7 separate regions of the Homo sapiens genome follow, and regions 1, 2, 3, 4, 5 and 6 are each linked to region 7. The links are contacts of gene promoters, found by promoter capture Hi-C in blood cells and fetal thymus (Javierre and others, 2016). All regions are on one chromosome and are shown on one strand. Each heading gives the region's core, a stretch centred on a gene start or on the middle of the fragment in contact. The rest is flanking DNA. Distances are from core to core; before and after follow the strand shown.

Region 1 (2,793 bases), core at 87-2,586, 360 kb after region 7:
ACGGTCAACACTGCTTCTCAATGAATTCTAAAGCTTCTTCCAGCAGGAAAATTAAATGATTATGATATCTTTACTACTTTCTTCCAATACATATTTTCCAGTGACCATGATGGTACAGAAATACCATCAGGGCTTACTGTCTGACACGGGGTTAATGAGCAATATAGAAAAGTTCATCAATTCAGGAAACTACCTAAAGGTCATGATTAATTACATTTTCAATAGCCTTTAATTTTTTTCAGGATAACGATGGTCATAAAGAAAAAATGATTTTTAAATTATATTGAATTAAATTAAAATGATATAACTAAAAACAGAAAACAAAGATGCAAATGTATACTTAATACCAAAGAAAGTCTTATTTTTAAGTTTCTATCTCTCCTTTAGACACATATCAGCATATGTAATGACACATTTCATTAACATGCATGTACAATCTTCATCATTTCCACTTGGAGTTCTTTTTAAGCTTTTTAATAATTTGAGTGCTATTAATGGTTATGATAGAAATGTTTATGCTTCCCATGTATGGATTTATTATTCAGCTGACATGGGCTTGGATTTTGTTGGTTATAGTGTAACTCACTTTCTCTTCTAGAATATTCATTTTCTCAAAGTCACAAGATATACATTTAGTTTAGTAGAACAAATATTTACAGATAATCAGACATGTATATAGCACTGGGCTAGGTATTATGTGAGAAAAAGAGAACACAGCCCATTCCCTCAAGAAAAGTAGACCATCGGTGACACTTCTAACATGACCACTTCTTCCCTATTGAGACAGGGCTGTCAGCTAGAAGTTAGGGAGCCCTGAAGAGCTCTAGATGTCCTTGGTAATACTTCCTCTTCCCTGCCTTCAGGATGCCCCAAGCCTTGGCTGCCCACGGACAAATCCAGGTTGGAAGCTGCAATGAGAGCTCAGTACCCTGTATCACAACTTATCCCAACATGCTGTCACCCGTTTGCTTCAGTCACCACCAGGATCCAAGATGCCAGTTCACTTATTCCTCATCTATTATCTTATACCTGTGTGTTCAACAGGTATACAAATATGACTCAGTTTCTCACTCCTTCACAACCCTAAACTCTTGACCTTTGTAACTCACAGCCTGTCATTTGCAAAATCCCCTAAATGCTCACCTCTTCTCTGAACATTCCCATGATCTAGCCCTACACAATCTGGCTCCTGCCTACTTCTACCAGAGGAAGCCCTCTCCCACCCCTCCTCTCCACCTTGATCCTTCTACCATAAGCACTCTAGTTTTCCTGCTGTTTCTGGAACTCCCCAGGCTCCTTCCTGCCCGTGGCCTTTGTACTTGTCAGCTCCGTTTGGTATACTCTCTTCCTACACCTTCTCCTGGCCACTGCCTTGTTCACTCAGGTCTGTATTCACACATCACTCCTCAGGGAGGCCTTTCCTGACCACGGATCTAAAACAGCCACCACCCCTCACACCTATCGCAAGCTCCCACCCCACCATTCTCTATGCTTTTCCCCTGCTTTATTTCTATAGCACTTATTACACCTATCGTAGTCTCTATTTTGTTGGTGTATTTCCTGTTATCTCATTATACTATAAACTCCATTTGGGAAAGAACGTTGTCTCATTCATCTCTGCATCTTCTATGCCAAGAACAATGTCTGTGGCAGTTCCAGCTGCTCAACAAGTATGTGTTGAATGAATGAGTGAATGAGTATTTCAGAATTTTCAGAATGCCCCAGAAAAAAATTCATGGTTATATAAGTTTTAGAAACAGTAGATATATAAACCCAGTTTTAAAGACTCACAGGACACATTTGCTTATGCAAGGCTATGTCAAGTCTCAAAGCAACAAACCCATTTAATTCCGCATTTCAAAATTAATTTCATCATGGTACCCTTTTTAAGCCTCACCTATAAATATCTATAGAATCAGAATTCCATTTGGGAAAGATTGCTGTTGGCAACTGAAATCTGTTGAGGATACTTTAGAGGAGAATGACATCTCTTGACCTCTGGACAATCCCCTACTTCCTTCCCTTTCTTCCATCTCCAATTTCCTAATTTCTTTTATAGGCCAGAACAGAACCCACTCTCAGGAGTCTGGGCACTGGGAATCTGGGGCTCACTTAAGAGAAAGTCTCTCTGTTGGTGGACACTCAAGAGACTCTGTTACCCAAAGAGCTACACTGAGGTGAGCAATGTGTCACCCAAGCTTATCTCACATGGGTGACAGGAACCTCCAGTACAGCAGTATCCAGCCTTGCCCCAGTTCCAGCCTCCTCCAACATAAAACTCCCTTCCTCATGGTAAGATATGAGGGTTGGAGGCCATTGTTAGGAGAGTGAGGGTAAATCCCCTTGCCTCTTCAACTTGCTACTTTTTACCATTTTTACATGTATCCTGGGAGTTAGGTTTAAAGGCTTAATTAGATTCAGGTTAACATTTTTGGCAAGGGTGGAGTCAGCTCCTTCTTTGGGCGAACTCTGATGGAAGTTATCTGTGATCTGCCCCTCGGTGGGACCTGGCTGCACTCTCTTTTCCACGTCACCTCCATTGAGTATCAGGTCTGACTTGGGCTCAGAAGCTGAGTCTGGTGGCCTCATGTATTCATTGCCTGTTACATATAAACTGAAGTTCACAGCATTCTCTGTCTCCTTGGTATGCTGTAGGCATGGGCTACAGTTAATTTTATTTTCTCTTTACCAATTAAAACGATGCTTTCCCCAAATAAAGCATATTATTATTTTAAAATTTATGGACCCTGTGAATTTTACAACTGACTTTCCCCCTTGTTTGGGAAGACTGAG
Region 2 (2,821 bases), core at 25-2,524, 380 kb after region 7:
CTAAATTCCCAAATTCACATCTTAAGCCCTGACCTACTGCCCTGAATTCCAGACTCATTTATCTGGATACTTAAGCATTATCTGTACTTGGATGACTTACAGGCACCTGGAATATAACATTTCCAGAACATAACTCTTTAGTTGCTTTACCCAGATCTGGTCATTCTATTTATCAGTCTTGAATATATGACTTCTCTAATCATCCAACCATCTAGTTGTTTTAGCAAGAAATCTTGTAGTCATCCTTTAATATCCCTCACCGAGAACCCAACATCTAATACCTCAAGAGATCCTGTTAGCTTTACCTGCAAAGTAAATCCACCACTTCTGATCACATCCACTCTAATGCCCTGGCCCCAATACTATCATTTTCTTCCTGAATACAATATCCTCCTAACTGGCTCTCTTGCTTCCATTCTAGTCTATTCTTCACAAAAAAAAGTCAGAAAACCTTCCAATAGCTTTCTGTCTCACTCTAAATAAAATCTAAAGTCTTTATTTACAGGTCTCAGCTTTGAAGACTCTACTCAACTAGCCCACTGGTAGTTTTCTGATCTCATCCTATGCCATTCTGTTTACTCACACTGTTCCAATTCTATTTGCTCTTTGCTATTCCTAGAACAGTCCAAGCATGGTCATCACCAGGGATTTTAAATTCATGATTCCCAACGCCTGGCATATTCTTCCTTAGATAATCACCTGGCTTGCTCCCTCCTCCAAGCTTTGGCTCCAATGTCAAATTATCAGAGTGCTTCTTTTACCATCCTGACATGGCATTCCCCATACCATGTACACACCCTTGCTATTCTGTCCTCCTACACAGCTTATTTTTCTTCTAATTATCAACACATGACAACAAATAATTGCTTGTGTGTCCACTGCCCATCTGTGTACAATTCTGCAAGAGCAGGGCTTTGTTTCTACTGTGTCCTTAGCTCAGACAACAGCGCTTAACATGTGGGAGCACTTAATAAATATATTTGTTGAATATATCAATGAATGAATAAATGAACCATTTGCAAATCAACTACTGAACATCTTTAGTTTTACAGAAACTCTTATTTTAGCCTACACTTTTGATCACTAGCCTGCCAGTCAATATAATGAATTACATAAAAGACTTTAATTCTGCTAAATGAAGCCTCAGTGAACCCTGGAAATATTTAGCAACTTATTAAGAAGCCTCATTTGTTGAGGCAGTAAGACCACATTAATCGGAAGAATTTTGTTTGTTTACTCAGAAAAAAGTTTATATCTGTCATCACTTACATTTTATGTTTACCTTTACACATTCATGTTCTTCTTACAGGAAGTCCAGAATCTAACAAAACCATCTGTAACAGAATTCAACGTGGCTAGTAGCCAAATGTAATCCACCTTAACTCACATGAACAGGTACTTTTATACTTTAAGTGAAAACACTTGAAGAGCCAAGTCATGACATGAGCACAAAGTCAGCTCTAGAATTCAGCTCTGTGTCCTGTTAGTGGTGTCACACAGATCCTTCATAACAGGGTTATAAATGCTGACATGTGATTATCTTTGTGGGACCAATTATTTAATAGATTATACTGTGGAAAATTCAATTAATAACTTTAAATGTTATATAAAACAAATGCTACCTAGATGACTTTCCTTTTTAAAAAATTGCTAGTAGAGTCTGAAGGTGTTTTTAGAGAAATATCCAATTCTGCCTTTCAGTGTAACTGGGCCAAAAAAAAAAATTAAACTTTACTTACCTGGAAAATACTCTGAATACTGATTTTTACAATAACACACGTATTCTCATTACAATATTCCCAAGTAAATTTATCTTAGAAAGCTTCCTTTTTTTTTTTTTTTAATTTGGGTTAACACTTCTAAGTCCAGGTAAACTTGAAAGAAATAAGTCTTTTCTCTATTTTTGCCTAGAATGCTTATAAATTTCTTCCTGCTAGTTACTGCTGCTCTCATTTGATTGTCTATGAGAACCTGAAGTTGTTCCGGCTTTTTATCTGTTTTTATTGTAAAGCTGTTAAGTGATTTCTGAATCTGAAAGGAAACTGTCTTATTGAGATATCATTAGGACATGTTATGTGATAATGTGCATTCACATCTTACCCAACAAAAAGACTCTTTAAAATAGCACAGTTTAAGAGAAAGAGGACTAGACCAGGGGTTAGAAGTCCAACTATCTGTGTTATAAATGAACTCATGACAATGAACAAGTCACTTAACCTAATGGAAATTACTTTTTTTTTTTTTTTTTTTGAGACAAGGTCTCGCTTTGTTGCCCAGGCTGGAGTGCAATGGCACAATCTCGGCTCACTGCAACCTCTGTCTCCCGGGTTCAAACGATTCTCCTGCCTCAGCCTCCTGAGTAGCTGGGATTACAGGCCCCCGCCACCACGCCCAGCTACTTTTTGTATTTTTAGTAGAGATGGGGTTCCACCATTTTGGTCAGGCTGGTCTTGAACTCCTGACCTCAGGTGATCCACCCGCCTCGGCCCCCCAAAGTGCTAGGATTACAGGTGTGAGCCACTGTGCCTGGCCGGAAATTACTTTTTAAACTACACATCAAACATTAAATGATCACAAAGATATTTCTAACTCCAGAGTTCTAATTTTAAGGCCACAACAGGAACCTTTATTTTCTCTACAAATCAGTGAAGTAAAATGAAATGTGGACAGGGATTGACAGCTTGACTACTTGAAGCCAGCACTGGAGAAATAAGCTGTCACTGGTTTGTAAACCCTGATGGGTAATGCTGATCTACCATGGTGATGAAAAATAACTTTTAGAAAAAATAATAAACTCTTTAACATGTTTAAAACAACATAT
Region 3 (2,700 bases), core at 109-2,608, 330 kb after region 7:
GAAAACCTAGGTTGGCTTGACTGCTTGATAGCTGCCATATCCTGGCCGTATACCCTACTGATTTTGAGACTTTCCTTTGAGGCCTCTGGCTTGCCCTGCCTGCCATAAAAATTTGTCTTGTCTTCATCTTGAATGGTACTTGGATTTGTTGCAGGAACTGATTCAGAGCTGTGGGGTGGGAGGTGGGGCTACTCTCAGTCTCAGCACATGTGTTCTGGCTTTCCAGATCTATTTCAGGTTCTGGATCTGCCTGAATTTTCTGCACATCACATGGAGACATGGATGACTTCTTGGGCTGCTGCCAGAAGAGATGCTTCAAGCCTTGGCCAATCACATTAAAGTACTCCAGAGCACTATGGGTCATTCTAGACAATTTGTTTTCTGACTCTGTCTGCTTCCTGGCCTTTGCATCTGCAAAGTAGAAAATGTGGCATTTTCTACTTTGAAAACTTTTCATTTTCTTGATGATATTTTCCCCTTATCTCTCCTCCTCTAATTAAGGAAAGACTGCAACCAAACTATCCCTCCCTGATACAGGACACTGTACCAATAGAGCAGTCCCTCCTCCATCCTACCTCAATCACACCCTGTGGTTCTTTATAACACAGTATATCTTTGATGCTAACTGTCACCAGGAAACCTTTCTCCTTAACCCAATGAAACAATAATCGTCTTTCACTAATGTCTTAGCCGTGTGATTGTGTGACTAGATTATACTTGGAGTCAGTAACAGAAAACAAACCACATACACTAATTATAAAATCTTTGGATCTGTTTTTAATTCCATGCAACTGATGTGGTAAAGTGACAGAAGATGAGCTAAACACAAATCTGGATTTTGTTCTGTCACTATCTGGGTGGCCTTAAAAATGCTACTTGGCCTCTCTGGGTCTCAATTTTCTCACTCATTCAGAAAAATATCATTTGATTACCCTCTATGTGCCAGGTCCTGTGTTAATCACAGGTAAAGAAGACATGATCTAGACTCTGTTGGTAGGGAAGATAAATAAAAAGAAAGAAAAGAACAGAAGGGAGGGAGGGAGGGAGGGAAGGAAGGAAAGAAGGAAGGAAGGAAAGAAGGAAGGAAGGGAGGGAGGGAAGGAGGGAGGAAGGGAGGGAGGAAGGAAGGAAAGGTGAGAGGGAGGGAGACAAGGAGAAAGGGAAGGAAGGAGCAAGTAAATATATAATAATAAATTTTAACATAAAATTTGTGCTTTTCAAACTTTTACTTTAGCCAAAATACTATTTGTTCAAGACAAATCTAACGTAGCAGCACTGACTTGCAAAATACGGCATGGCCCCACCATGTTGATCTCTACCACTCTCTCCTATGGCACTCTGCCCTTGTTCATCCCACCTCTGCCACTGTGGTCTTGTCATTCCTGAATCATGCTAACTCACTCCCAACTCAGGGTCTTGCCACCTGCTGCTTCCCCTGCTTGGAACATTTCCCCCATATCTTCAGATGACCTGACCTTCATTTCATTCATATCTTTGCTTAAATATCACCTCAGAGAGGACACCTCTGATAACCCTATCTAAAATCATTTTGTGTTCCCCAGTGCCTTCCTACCTTGTTCTGCTTTATTTTTTTATCATTTATTTCCACTTGAAATTATATGTTTTTTCATTTTTATTTTCTCTCTCATCAATGTAAATTCCATGACAAGGTCTCTGCTTTCCTAATTTCTCTTTGTAACTTCTTTTATCAGGCCAGACTCATAGTAGGAGCTCCATTAATATTTGTCAAATGAACATTAGGAGAGAGATGACTAAAGGGGGAATGGTTCTGTTGAAACATTGAGATAGGAAGCTAAGTCCTGTGCAATCTATTTCCTCCCCATGTAGCCCCTGAGGACACTTTCAGGTCTAACACTGCAGGACACAAATTATTTCATCAGGAAAGAGGTCTTAAACATTAAACTTTATTTTTTATTCATTTTTAAATTCCAAAACATGTACTCTGTTCTAGAATAAAAGCTATGCTATGTGCTTGGTCTCAAGGAGACAATAACATTATCTATTCTGTTTGGAGTTTATTGTCTAGCTATAAAAAATTAATCTAAATTAATGGGATGATATGATAGAGAAGCTGGGGCACACAGAAGACAGAGTAACTGCCTGCAGGACACCTTACATTTCTCCTCCATAAAAGGGATGTTTACTTCTCAGCTACAAAGTTTACTATAAGAATAAAATGAGAAGATGGATATGAAAGTGTTTGAAATACTGCAGAACATCCTCAAAAATCCAGTGTGAGTATGATTATTCAAGATTAAATAGAACATCAGGAAAAATGGCAGAGTAAGAAACTCAGGAGTTTTGCCCCCTATGAAAGCAACAAAAAATAAACTGTCAAAATCTTTCAACATTAACTTTTTTGGAACTCTGGAAATTAGCCAGAGATTGAGTAATATAAGAACTTATTCAAAAAAAACTAGGTAAGGGCCAGGCGTGGTGGCTCACACCTGTAATCCCAGCACTTTGGGAGGCCAAGGCAGGTGGATCACAAGGTCAAGAGATCGAGACCATCCTGGCTAACATGGTGAAACCCCGTCTCTACTAAAAATACAAAAACTAACCAGGTGTGGTGGCATGTGGCATAGTCCCAGCTACTCAGAAGGCTGAGGCAGGAGAATCGCTTGAACCCAGGAGGCGGAGGTTGTAGTGAGCTGAGATGGCACCACTGCACTCCAGCCT
Region 4 (2,700 bases), core at 40-2,539, 340 kb after region 7:
TTAGCTGGGCATGGTGGCGGGTGCCTGTAGTCCCAGCTACTCGGGAGGCTGAGGCAGGAGAATGGCGTGAACCCAGGAGGCGGAGCTTGCAGTGAGCTGAGATTGCACCACTGCACTCCAGTCTGGGTGACAGAGCGAGACTCTGTCTCAAAAAAAAAAAGAAAAAAAGAAAATTAAAAACAAAAACCATATGATTATCTCAATAGATGCAGGGAAAAGTTTTTGATAAAATCCAACATCCCTTCATAATAAGAATGCTCAACAGACTAGGCATCAAAGGAACTTATCTCAAAATAATTAGAGCCATCTATGATAAACCCACTGCCAACATCATACTGGATGGGCAAAAGCTGAATGTACTCCCCTTAAGAACAGGAAGAAGACAAGGCTCCCCTCTCTCACCACTCCTATTCAACATAGTAATAGAAGTCCTAGCCAGAGCAATAAGACAAGAGAAAGAAATAAAAAGCATCCAAATAGAAAAAGAAGTCAAAATATGTCTCTTTGCTGATGATATGATTCTATACCTAGAAAACTCTAAAGATTCCACCAAAAGGCTCCTATAACCGATAAATGACCTCACTAAAGTTTCAGGCTACAAAATCAATTTCAACAGGCATTAGCATTTCTAGACACCAATAATGTTCAAGCTGAGAGCCAAATAAAGAATACAATCTCAATTACAATAGCCACCCAAAAATAAAATACTTAGAAATACAAAAACCAAGGAGATAAAATATATCTACAAGGAGAAATCCAAAACACTGCTGAAAGAAATCACAGATGACACTACCAAATGGAAAGACATTCCATGCTCATGGATTGAAAGAATATCATTAAAATGGTCCAACTGCACAAAGCAATCTACAGAGTCAATGCTATTCCTATCAAACTGCCAATGTTATTTTTCACAGAATTAGAAAAAACTATCTAAAATTCATATGGAACCAAAAAAGATCCTCAATAGCCAAGATAATCCTAAACAAAAAGAACAAAGCTGAAAGCATCACATTACCCAACTTCAAAGTATATAAGGCTACAGAAACCAAAACAGCATGGTGCTGGTACAAAATAGCCATATAAACTACCAAAATATCTGGAATGCAATGAAAACAAAAGCAGTGTTAAGAGAGAAGTTTATAGTGCTAAATGCTTACATCAAGAAGTTAGAACGATCTCAAATTTGGAATAGAGAACCCAGTCATAAAGCTACTTACCTACAGCCATCTAATCTTTGACAAAGCTGACAAAAAGAAACAATGGGAAAATGACTTCCCATTCAACAAATAGTGCTGGGATACCTAGCTAGCCATATGCAGAAGAATGAAACTGGACATTTACCTTTCACCATATACAAAAATAAACTGAAGATGGATTAATGATTTAAGCATAAGACCTCGAACTATAAAAATTCTAGAAGAAAACCTATGAAATACCATTCTGAACATGGGCCTTGGAAAGGAATTTATGACTAAGTCCTCAAAAGCAGTTGCAACAAAACAAAAAATTGACAGTTAAACTAAACAGTTTCTGTAAAGCAAAAGAAACTATCAACAGAGCAAATAGACAACCTACATAATGGGAGAAAATATTTGCAAACTATCATCTGACAAAGGTGGAATATCCAGAATCTATAAGGAAATTTAACAATTCAACAAGCAAAAAACAAATAAAACAACCCCATTTAAAAATGTGCGAAAGACGTGAATAATCACTTCTCAATGCAAGTGGCCAATAAATATATTTTTAAATGCTCATCATTACTAATCATCTGACAAATGCAAATTGAAACAACAACAAGATACCATCTCACACCAGTCAGAAGGCCTATTATTAAAAAGTCAAAAAACAACAGATGCTGGTGAGGCTGTGGAGAAAAGGAACATTTATATACTATTGGTGGGAATGTAAATTAGTTCAGTAGCTGTGGAAAGCAGTTTGAAGATTTCTTGAAGAACTTAAAACAGAACTACCATTCAACCCAGCAGTCCCATTACTGGGTATATACACAAAGGAAAATAAATCATTATACCAAAAATACACATACACTTGTGTGTTCATTGCAGCACTATTCACAATAGCAAAGACATGGAATCAGCCTTGTTGCCCATAAACAGTGGATTTGATAAAGAAAATGTGGTACATATTTATTTCTATACACCATGAAATATACACAACAATAAAAAGAATGACATAATATCTTTTACAGGAGCATGGATATAGCTGGAGGCCATATCCTAAGCAAATTAACACAGAAACAAAAAAACAAATACCACATGTTCTCATTTATAAGTGGTACCTAAACATTGGATCCACATGGACAAAACAACAGACACTATGGACTACTAGCAGAGGGAGGGAAGGGAGCAAAGGTTGAAAAACTACATATTATACCCAGCTCAGTACATGAGTGACAGGATCATTCACACCTCAGACCTCAGCATCACACAACATACCAATTGACAAATCCACCCACATACCCCCAAATCTAAAATAAAAGCTGAAATTATAAAAAAAGAAAGTCTCTAAGAATATATTGAAATGCATATTAAAACTATTAAGGCAGCTTATTTAATGGCCCAATAAAAGATCAGCATAGGAAAATTAAGTTGTTTCCTTATTCATAGCAATAGCAATAACTAATCAGAAAATGTTTCATTCACAAAGGTAAAAATAATTATAAAGTACTTAAAAATAAGA
Region 5 (2,755 bases), core at 213-2,712, 370 kb before region 7:
GGTAGAGATGGGGTTTCATGTTGGCCAGGCTGGTGTCGAACTCCTGACCTGAAGTGATCCACCTGCCTCAACCCCCCAAAGTTCTGGGATTACAGGCATGAGCCACCCCGCCTGGCCCAGATACTTAGAGCTTTAAGAAGACCAAGGTCATAGATCTCATATTGGGCAGAACCAAGACCAGAACTGAGGTCTTGGTCTCCACATCCTGTCTTCTTTTAGTTAACATATGCTGTTCCTTTTTAATTTAATACTTCTAAAACATTTAAAAATGTATTTTAAAATATTTTTAAATATATATTTCAGCTGGTTGCAGTGGCACATGACTGTAGTCCCAGCTACTCTGGGGACTGAGGCAGGAGGATCACTTGAGTCCAGGAGTTTGAATACAGCCTGGGTAGCATAGTGAGACCCTGTCTCTAAAACAGTAAATAAAATAAATTAAAAAAAATTACACACACGCGATATATTTCAGGGGAAATCTAACATCTAGGTTTTATTTTAATATTATATAATTGAGTTTTCTTCAGATCAGTTGGCTTTATATATAAATTCCAAAAGATATTATTCCCTAAGCACAATGTGGTGGTAATGAACTTGAGCTTTGAAGTTAGGCAAACCTGCAGTCAAGTACTAAGCCTGGTATTTCTTAGTTGCATGAGTTTAAACAAATTACTGGATCCCATAACGCTTCTGTTTCCTCGACTATAAGTAATAACAATCAGATTTACTACACAGGAATTTAAAGAAGTCTGTCCGTGAGGCTTCATATGGATTATGCAGTGCAATTTTTGCACATTCGTAAGCTATAGCCCTGCCTTTGCCCACCAGTGATGTTGTGTATGTGTGTGATTTTCTTTCCTAGGGGCGGCCTGTGGTAATTTGTGATAAGGAGGATACTGAGACCATTAAGAACACAAAAAGAACGATCAAGGTGCCCCACTCAGTGGACTGCTTGCAGGGCATTCTCAGCGTGATCCCTTTACAGTTGCTGGCTTTCCACCTTGCTGTGCTGAGAGGCTATGATGTAAGTCATCTACCACTGCAGAAATCTTGGGATGGTTTTTTACCTGGATACATTCTGATTTTTTTCTCCTAAATTTTTAACAATAGTGTTTGAGAAATCTATCAAATATATATCTGTCACCTGTTATATTTTCATGGCCCAATTTGTAGGTTACATCACAACATCTTCTTACCCATAGAACTTGAAGGAACCTTGGGGTTCACCTCCAAGATTGTGACTCACCTTGGGTAGTCTCCACCTGTTTTCTTAATATAACCTCTATCTCTTAACAGGGCAGCTATTGGCATTTGGCAGGACAATTCTTTTTTGTTTGGAACTGTCCCACACATTGAAGACTTTGTAGCATTCCTGGTTTCTCAGCCATTGTGGCAACCAAAACATAGTGCTTTTGTTTTTAGTGTCCCCTATGAGGGCTACTACTTCTGTAGAGGACCACAGTAGCTCTTTCTGTGTGAACTGGCACCTTTAGAATGCTTTTTCCTAACCAATTTCAGTTTTTTTCAGGACACATTATGTGATTATATTTTCTAATCTAATTCTTTGTAGTCTGTAATAAAGATGGTTAATGAATGTATTGTTTTCTGTTTTTATAAACAAAAATAATTTGCTTATAGTAACCACCCCCTTCCCCAGTCTATATAATCTCTCAAATCTTGCTTTTTTTTTTTTTCTTTTTGCAGGTTGATTTCCCACGGAATCTTGCCAAATCTGTGACTGTAGAGTGAGGAATATCTATACAAAATGTACGAAACTGTATGATTAAGCAACACAAGACACCTTTTGTATTTAAAACCTTGATTTAAAATATCACCCCTTGAAGCCTTTTTTTAGTAAATCCTTATTTATATATCAGTTATAATTATTCCACTCAATATGTGATTTTTGTGAAGTTACCTCTTACATTTTCCCAGTAATTTGTGGAGGACTTTGAATAATGGAATCTATATTGGAATCTGTATCAGAAAGATTCTAGCTATTATTTTCTTTAAAGAATGCTGGGTGTTGCATTTCTGGACCCTCCACTTCAATCTGAGAAGACAATATGTTTCTAAAAATTGGTACTTGTTTCACCATACTTCATTCAGACCAGTGAAAGAGTAGTGCATTTAATTGGAGTATCTAAAGCCAGTGGCAGTGTATGCTCATACTTGGACAGTTAGGGAAGGGTTTGCCAAGTTTTAAGAGAAGATGTGATTTATTTTGAAATTTGTTTCTGTTTTGTTTTTAAATCAAACTGTAAAACTTAAAACTGAAAAATTTTATTGGTAGGATTTATATCTAAGTTTGGTTAGCCTTAGTTTCTCAGACTTGTTGTCTATTATCTGTAGGTGGAAGAAATTTAGGAAGCGAAATATTACAGTAGTGCATTGGTGGGTCTCAATCCTTAACATATTTGCACAATTTTATAGCACAAACTTTAAATTCAAGCTGCTTTGGACAACTGACAATATGATTTTAAATTTGAAGATGGGATGTGTACATGTTGGGTATCCTACTACTTTGTGTTTTCATCTCCTAAAAGTGGTTTTTATTTCCTTGTATCTGTAGTCTTTTATTTTTTAAATGACTGCTGAATGACATATTTTATCTTGTTCTTTAAAATCACAACACAGAGCTGCTATTAAATTAATATTGATATATTCAGTATTCTCTTCAACTTTGTCACGAGGAAGAATTTCCTGTAGTTAATTTTAACTTTCCTTCATTACATTGTTGCATAAAACTAGTCCC
Region 6 (2,700 bases), core at 196-2,695, 340 kb before region 7:
TTGAATTGGGAAGATGCCAAGAAAGTTTGCTTGTGCTTAGGTTCTGGGTGAAAAAATAAAATCCTTTTGTGAGAAAGTAAAATCCCAAGTATATGCTTTGAGAGGTTGGAAGACTGAATTTATACTGTCTGTGAGTTATGAACATCATAAATTAAGAGATGCACGTGAAGAGTGGGCCTGTGTATGTTACTGCTGAGGATACATGCTGACATAGATGGAAAATCACTCTGGTCATAAAAGATTTCCATCGAAAAATCAAGCTCAGTTGAAGATGAGCGTTCAGTAAAAAATTACAATATATCTGATAGACCCACCATAAACAAGAGTTTTCAGACACTTGTAGGGAGGTCAGCAACCTCAAACCCTAGATCATAGAAAAACAATTTGAAAGAGACCATCAAAGATAGGGATGTTTAAATGATTAAAGAGATACACAGGCTGGGTGTGGTGGCTCACACCTATAATCCCGGCACTTTGGGAGATTGAGGCAGGAGGCAGGAGGATCAATTGAGCCCAGAAGTTTGAGACCAGTCTGGGTGACATATGGAGGCCCTGCCTCTACAAAAAATAAAAAACTAGCTGGTGTTGTGGTATATACCTGTAGTCCCAGCGACTCAGTAGGCTGACATGGGAGGGTCGCTTGAGCCCAGGAGGTCAAGGCTGCAAGGAGCTGTGATTGTGCCACTGCACTCCAGCCTGGACAAGAGAGCAAGACTCTGTTTCAACAAATAAATAAAAAACAAAAAAGCCACAATGAAAGAATAATACATTATGAAAAGGAATGGGAGTAACACTGACAATGAAACATATTTGTGTTTATGTTCAGATTTCAGAAATAAGTAGACTAAAACTGAGGATAACAGGTTGTCACCAAAATAAAACACAAACATACAACAACACCAACAATTCAACAACACCTCCACCAGTCCCTAAAAAAAGCAACTCAAAGTAAAAAATTCCAAAATACAGGTCTTGGAAAGAGAAAACAGAATGCTTACATCTTGTTCTTGCGTATGTCAGCCCACTGAACTTAGTACAGTTTATATACCCTTATAAAATATGCCAGCTGGCATTAGGATTATCATGAAGGAAAAACAATGCAGACACCAAATTGGGTTACCTAGGATACAAAAATAACATTTTTATTATAACAATATGATAATGGAAGGAATTGAGAATACTGTACCAGTACGGTCCTTGGATGAGCAGCCCCATAAAACCATACAGTGGGAGATAGTGAGTGGAGAATTTGGGTGGAGTCATGGGATGGAAAAAGAACATTACAAAGAAATCATGTAGGGTGTACATTCAAGCATACATGTTCGAGAACTTTGGTACTAAACATGCCTGATGATCAGCCACCATCAACATAACAACTTAGAGTTAGCTTGCCTCCTCCACTCCAGTGTTGCTATAGAGACTGTAGAGTCCACTTTCTTGTTAGTCCCTATGAGCTGAGTTGGGATTGTCATGGTTGTAGAAAAAAGAAAAAGCTGAAAAGAAAAAAAATTATCATTATTTGAGATTATTTGATGGCCAAAATAGAACATTTATGAGAACCTACAGGTAAAATATTAGAAATAACAAGAATGTTTAGTAAGGTTACTGGAAATGAGCAATATACAAAATAATCAGTAAAGGCTAGGAGTGGCTCACGTCTGTAATCCCATCACTTTGGGAGGCTGAGGAAAGTGGATTGCTTGAACCCAGGAGTTCAAGACCAGCCTGGACAACATGGTGAAACCCCGTTTCTACAAAAAAAAAAACCCACAAAACAAAATTAGCCAGACATGGTAGCATGTGCCTGTGGTCCCAGCTACTCAGGGGGCTGGGGTGGGAGGATGGCTTGAGCCCAGGAGATCAAGGCTGCAGTGAGCTGTGATTGCACTGCTGCACTCCAGCCTGGGTGACAGAGCGAGACATTGTCTCAAAGCAACAATGACAATAAAACCAAAAAAATCAGTAGCAAAATTTAGAAAATTTACTTAAAATACATTTAAAACAACAATAGCAACAACAAAAACTGAATATGCACATCTATTATATATCAATAAAAAATAAAAACACTATGAACTTCTAGAAAGAAATATGAGGATAAGACCTTTAAAGAAAAGGTGAAAACAATTTTTTGAAAGACATGAAACAAGACCAGGTAGTTGGGAGACAAAATATATTCATGGATAAAAAGTCTTTGTACATAAAATGTCAATTTTTGTCCAAATCAAATTAAAGTTAATTCAATTCTAACAAAAATGTCCAAGAGAGTTTTTCACAGAACTTGACAAAATAGGTCCAAAAATTCATATAAAAGAGGAAACAGTTATAAATTTCAAAAATCTTAATCATAATAATGCTGATAATGAGAAATACGCCCTCAGATTTCAAAAAATTTTGCAAGCTATAGAAAGTTAAACAGTGTAATATTGGCATAGAAATAGTAAAAGCTACCAATGGGACAGCCTGGAGAGTGTAGAAAAAGACTTATGTATATTAAGAATTTGGTTTATGACACAAGTAGCATTCAAAGCAGTATGAAGAAAGAATAATAAATTGGTCTTGAACAATAAACTATGAAAAAAGAAAAAATAGGATTCCCACCTCACTATACGTAACACATGTGTGCACATGCATATATACACAATTCCAGCTGGATTAAAATCTATAGAATGTAAAATTTTGAAATGTTAAGAAAATATAGAC
Region 7 (2,700 bases), core at 10-2,509:
GCTATAGAACAAGGCCATTATTTATGTTATCTCTTTGTTTACTGTGGTGATTCTCAATATTTTACAATTTTGCAATTTACTGGGGTTTTTTGTTTTGTTTTGTTTTGAGATGGAATCTTGCTCTATCACCCAGGCTGGAGTGCAGTGGCATGATCTTGGCTCACTGCAACCTCTGCCTCCCGGGTTCAAGCAATTCTCCTGCCTCAGCCTCCTGAGTAGCTGGGACTACAGGCGAGCACCATCACGCCTGGCTAATTTTTTTGTACTTTTAGTAGAGACGGGGTTTCACCATAGTAGAGACGGGGTTTCACCATGTTGTCCAGGCTGGTCTCAAACTTCTGACCTCAGGTGATCTGCCCGCCTTGGCCTCCCAAATTGCCGGGGTTACAGGCATGAGCCACTGCGCCCAGCCGCAGTTTATTGTTTTTGTTGTTGTTGTTGTTTGTTTTGTTTTTAAATTTCCCTTCCTGAGTTCATGATTATACCCTGACACTAACTAGCCATTTCTAATTGTCATGTTAAAAAAATTACACAAATTAAACTTTATTCTCTTTCTCTCTCTTTTTTTTTTTTTTCAATCTAAGAATTTCTTAATACTCTGCAAGATAACTAGAGGTCTCTAACTTACAGTTTTGTGCAGTTTTGGGCGAAGCTTAATGTAAAAATTTGGTTAAACTTGGTAATTGGGGAGAATGCTTTCTGAGTCTTGTTCCTCATTAATTTCTGGAAATTGACACCAAATCTAAAGGGAAGAACGAAGAAAGTCCTAGGCTGTTTGTTCTCCAAGCAGGCCTCCCCAGCCACTGTCTTGGCACCCCGTCTCATATCCGTTCCCTCTGTGGAAGAATTCAGCCAGCAGAACAGTGGTGAAAAGACATTGAGTTGGGGCCCAACTCAGGCCTTAAGGAAGCACTCTTCCTTTAGGAGGAGATGTTAGAAGTTTGTCCTTGTAGAGCTATAAAATGTATGCATAGAACAAGCATCATGCAATATTTTTAAAGGGTGGAAATTAAAATGTCAAGTGCAGCATAGTACAAATAGCAGGGAATATTTACAGAGTGACCAAGTGGTGAATTTTCATTACTGACTAATGAACTTCATTGATATCAGGTATGTGGTTGGATCTCAATTCTGATAAAGGAGTTTGCTAGGGTGTGTCAGAGATATAGACATGGTCTTTTCCAAAGTGATCATTTGAAAAAGAGATATCCACATCTTCAAGCCCATATAAAGGATAGAAGCTGCACAGGGCAGCTTTACTTACTCCAGCACCTTCCTCTCCCAGGCAAAATGAAAATACTTGTGAGTATTTGTTTCTGCTTCTTGATACTCTTGTGGTGACTGCTTGCAGACAATGCTCATATCTAATATGCCATGGATTTTGGGAGTCTTAGACAGATACTGTGCATGCTTCTAAGCTTCTGTGATTGAATTAATGACATCTTTGGCAGAAATAGTGTTGAATAAGTCTGACTTTTTTTGTCCTTTTCCTGTTTTGAGATGTTTACTTAAAAGAAAATTCAAAAATACAAAGAAATCTCTAGATAATTTTGATTTGGAGGATGTTTAATAATAATCCTTTATTATGAGCTTCATAGGGAATTTGGGCTATTTAAAACAACTACATTTGCTATCTAAGAGAGAAGCTGTAGTTTAAAAATAATATCAGTAATAGTAATAATAGTACCTCTCATTTCTCAAATGCATACTAAGCCTTAGACTAAGCATATCACATGAATAATTTCATCTATTCATTGCAACAACCCTATGAGTTGAGTAGTATTCTCCCCGTTTTACAGATAAGGAGACTGAGAGGCAGAGGAATGTGATTTTCCCAAGCCCGTAAATGTGGGATTTAGAATGTAATTTATCCATCTGAATCCCCACTTGCAGGCGCAATCATGGCAAATTTAAGCAGCCAGAGTGTCTTCAATGTCCTCTCATTATGACTAAATTCTCCCTTAGGACAAAACGTTCCTTCTATGGCCACTCCACCCCTCCATCTGATCCCAGCCTCCGTAGTTCCACATTGCAGTGCCCCATGGACAGTGGGCTATGTTCTGACCTAGAATGGAATTCGCTCCCCTAGTCTCTGTCCTTTATTCTCATTCAGCTGCTAAGGGAGAAAGCAAAATGTTAAGTACCTCTTTCTAAAGTGTTAAAGACTATCAGCTTAAAGAGCTCCCTCTCTCAGGGCTGTCTTGATTTTCCAAATTGAGACCTAACCCTGAAGCACAAAAGTATTATATAACCATGGTGTATTAACCACAGTGTTGGAAGGGAGATCATTTTGGGGCAGAGGACACTCCCCAAGCTCTCTCTAATCATACCATTAAAGTGGTTTAGTCCTTCGACTACTTGTTCAAACCACTATTTTAGACTCATTAACTAGAATATACGGGAGTATCATATGTTGCTGGAGCTGGTCTGTGGTAAGAGAAGATGTATCCCTATGGAAGGCTGAATATCAGCACACAGGTCTTTGTTAGATGCTCTACTCCCAGTCCCCAGAAGAGAAATATTAAGGGTGGGATGGAAAGGGAAGTAGGAAAGTCCCACTGACAGTTCTTAAAAATATCCCCCTTCCCCAAGACTCCTTTCATCAGCAGTTTTCAAATGACAGTGCAGTCAACTATGTACTGATGTAGTTTTCAGCGATAGTACAGTTCACTGATGTTCAGAAGAGAGGGTACAAAACCT

The links. The method cuts DNA at HindIII sites, captures the fragments that hold promoters and counts their contacts. A CHiCAGO score of 5 or more calls a contact.
Region 1: a fragment that was not itself captured here is called in contact with the fragment with the promoter of GKN2 in region 7 in 3 of 17 cell types (activated CD4 T cells, total CD8 T cells and naive CD4 T cells); the score reaches 9.7 in activated CD4 T cells.
Region 2: a contact is called between a fragment that was not itself captured here and the fragment with the promoter of GKN2 in region 7, in 7 of 17 cell types (total CD4 T cells, activated CD4 T cells, total CD8 T cells and 4 more). The highest score is 8.7, in total CD4 T cells.
Region 3: a contact is called between a fragment that was not itself captured here and the fragment with the promoter of GKN2 in region 7, in 7 of 17 cell types (non-activated CD4 T cells, activated CD4 T cells, naive CD4 T cells and 4 more). The highest score is 10.6, in non-activated CD4 T cells.
Region 4: a fragment that was not itself captured here is called in contact with the fragment with the promoter of GKN2 in region 7 in 5 of 17 cell types (activated CD4 T cells, non-activated CD4 T cells, naive CD4 T cells and 2 more); the score reaches 7.6 in activated CD4 T cells.
Region 5: a fragment that was not itself captured here is called in contact with the fragment with the promoter of GKN2 in region 7 in 6 of 17 cell types (M2 macrophages, M1 macrophages, megakaryocytes and 3 more); the score reaches 8.5 in M2 macrophages.
Region 6: a fragment that was not itself captured here is called in contact with the fragment with the promoter of GKN2 in region 7 in 3 of 17 cell types (megakaryocytes, M1 macrophages and M2 macrophages); the score reaches 6.1 in megakaryocytes.

The regions. Positions count from the first base shown.
Region 1 is chr2:68,591,143-68,593,935 of GRCh38, reverse strand. No RefSeq gene overlaps it. Among named protein-coding and RNA genes, the nearest start is that of PROKR1, 51 kb to the left of the region's middle. The HindIII fragment of the contact is 1,729 bases long and covers 472-2,200 here.
Region 2 is chr2:68,573,102-68,575,922 of GRCh38, reverse strand. The region is part of intron 9 of APLF (aprataxin and PNKP like factor); the gene reads right to left. Among named protein-coding and RNA genes, the nearest start is that of PROKR1, 69 kb to the left of the region's middle. The HindIII fragment of the contact is 1,101 bases long and covers 724-1,824 here.
Region 3 is chr2:68,624,774-68,627,473 of GRCh38, reverse strand. It overlaps the pseudogene LOC100379290. Among named protein-coding and RNA genes, the nearest start is that of PROKR1, 17 kb to the left of the region's middle. The HindIII fragment of the contact is 3,535 bases long and covers 1-2,700 here.
Region 4 is chr2:68,607,739-68,610,438 of GRCh38, reverse strand. No RefSeq gene overlaps it. Among named protein-coding and RNA genes, the nearest start is that of PROKR1, 34 kb to the left of the region's middle. The HindIII fragment of the contact is 3,272 bases long and covers 1-2,700 here.
Region 5 is chr2:69,325,183-69,327,937 of GRCh38, reverse strand. GFPT1 (glutamine--fructose-6-phosphate transaminase 1) reads left to right here. Exons shown (of 20, transcript NM_001244710.2): 19 at 863-1,024; 20 at 1,705-2,755. The coding sequence ends at 1,749. Among named protein-coding and RNA genes, the nearest start is that of GFPT1, 61 kb to the left of the region's middle. The HindIII fragment of the contact is 9,540 bases long and covers 1-2,755 here.
Region 6 is chr2:69,288,288-69,290,987 of GRCh38, reverse strand. It overlaps LOC124907821 (a long non-coding RNA gene), which reads right to left. Exons shown (of 2, transcript XR_007086810.1): 2 at 1,112-1,493. Among named protein-coding and RNA genes, the nearest start is that of GFPT1, 98 kb to the left of the region's middle. The HindIII fragment of the contact is 4,347 bases long and covers 1-2,700 here.
Region 7 is chr2:68,951,452-68,954,151 of GRCh38, reverse strand. GKN2 (gastrokine 2) reads left to right here and starts at 1,259. Exons shown (of 6, transcript NM_182536.3): 1 at 1,259-1,302. The coding sequence starts at 1,291. The HindIII fragment of the contact is 766 bases long and covers 655-1,420 here.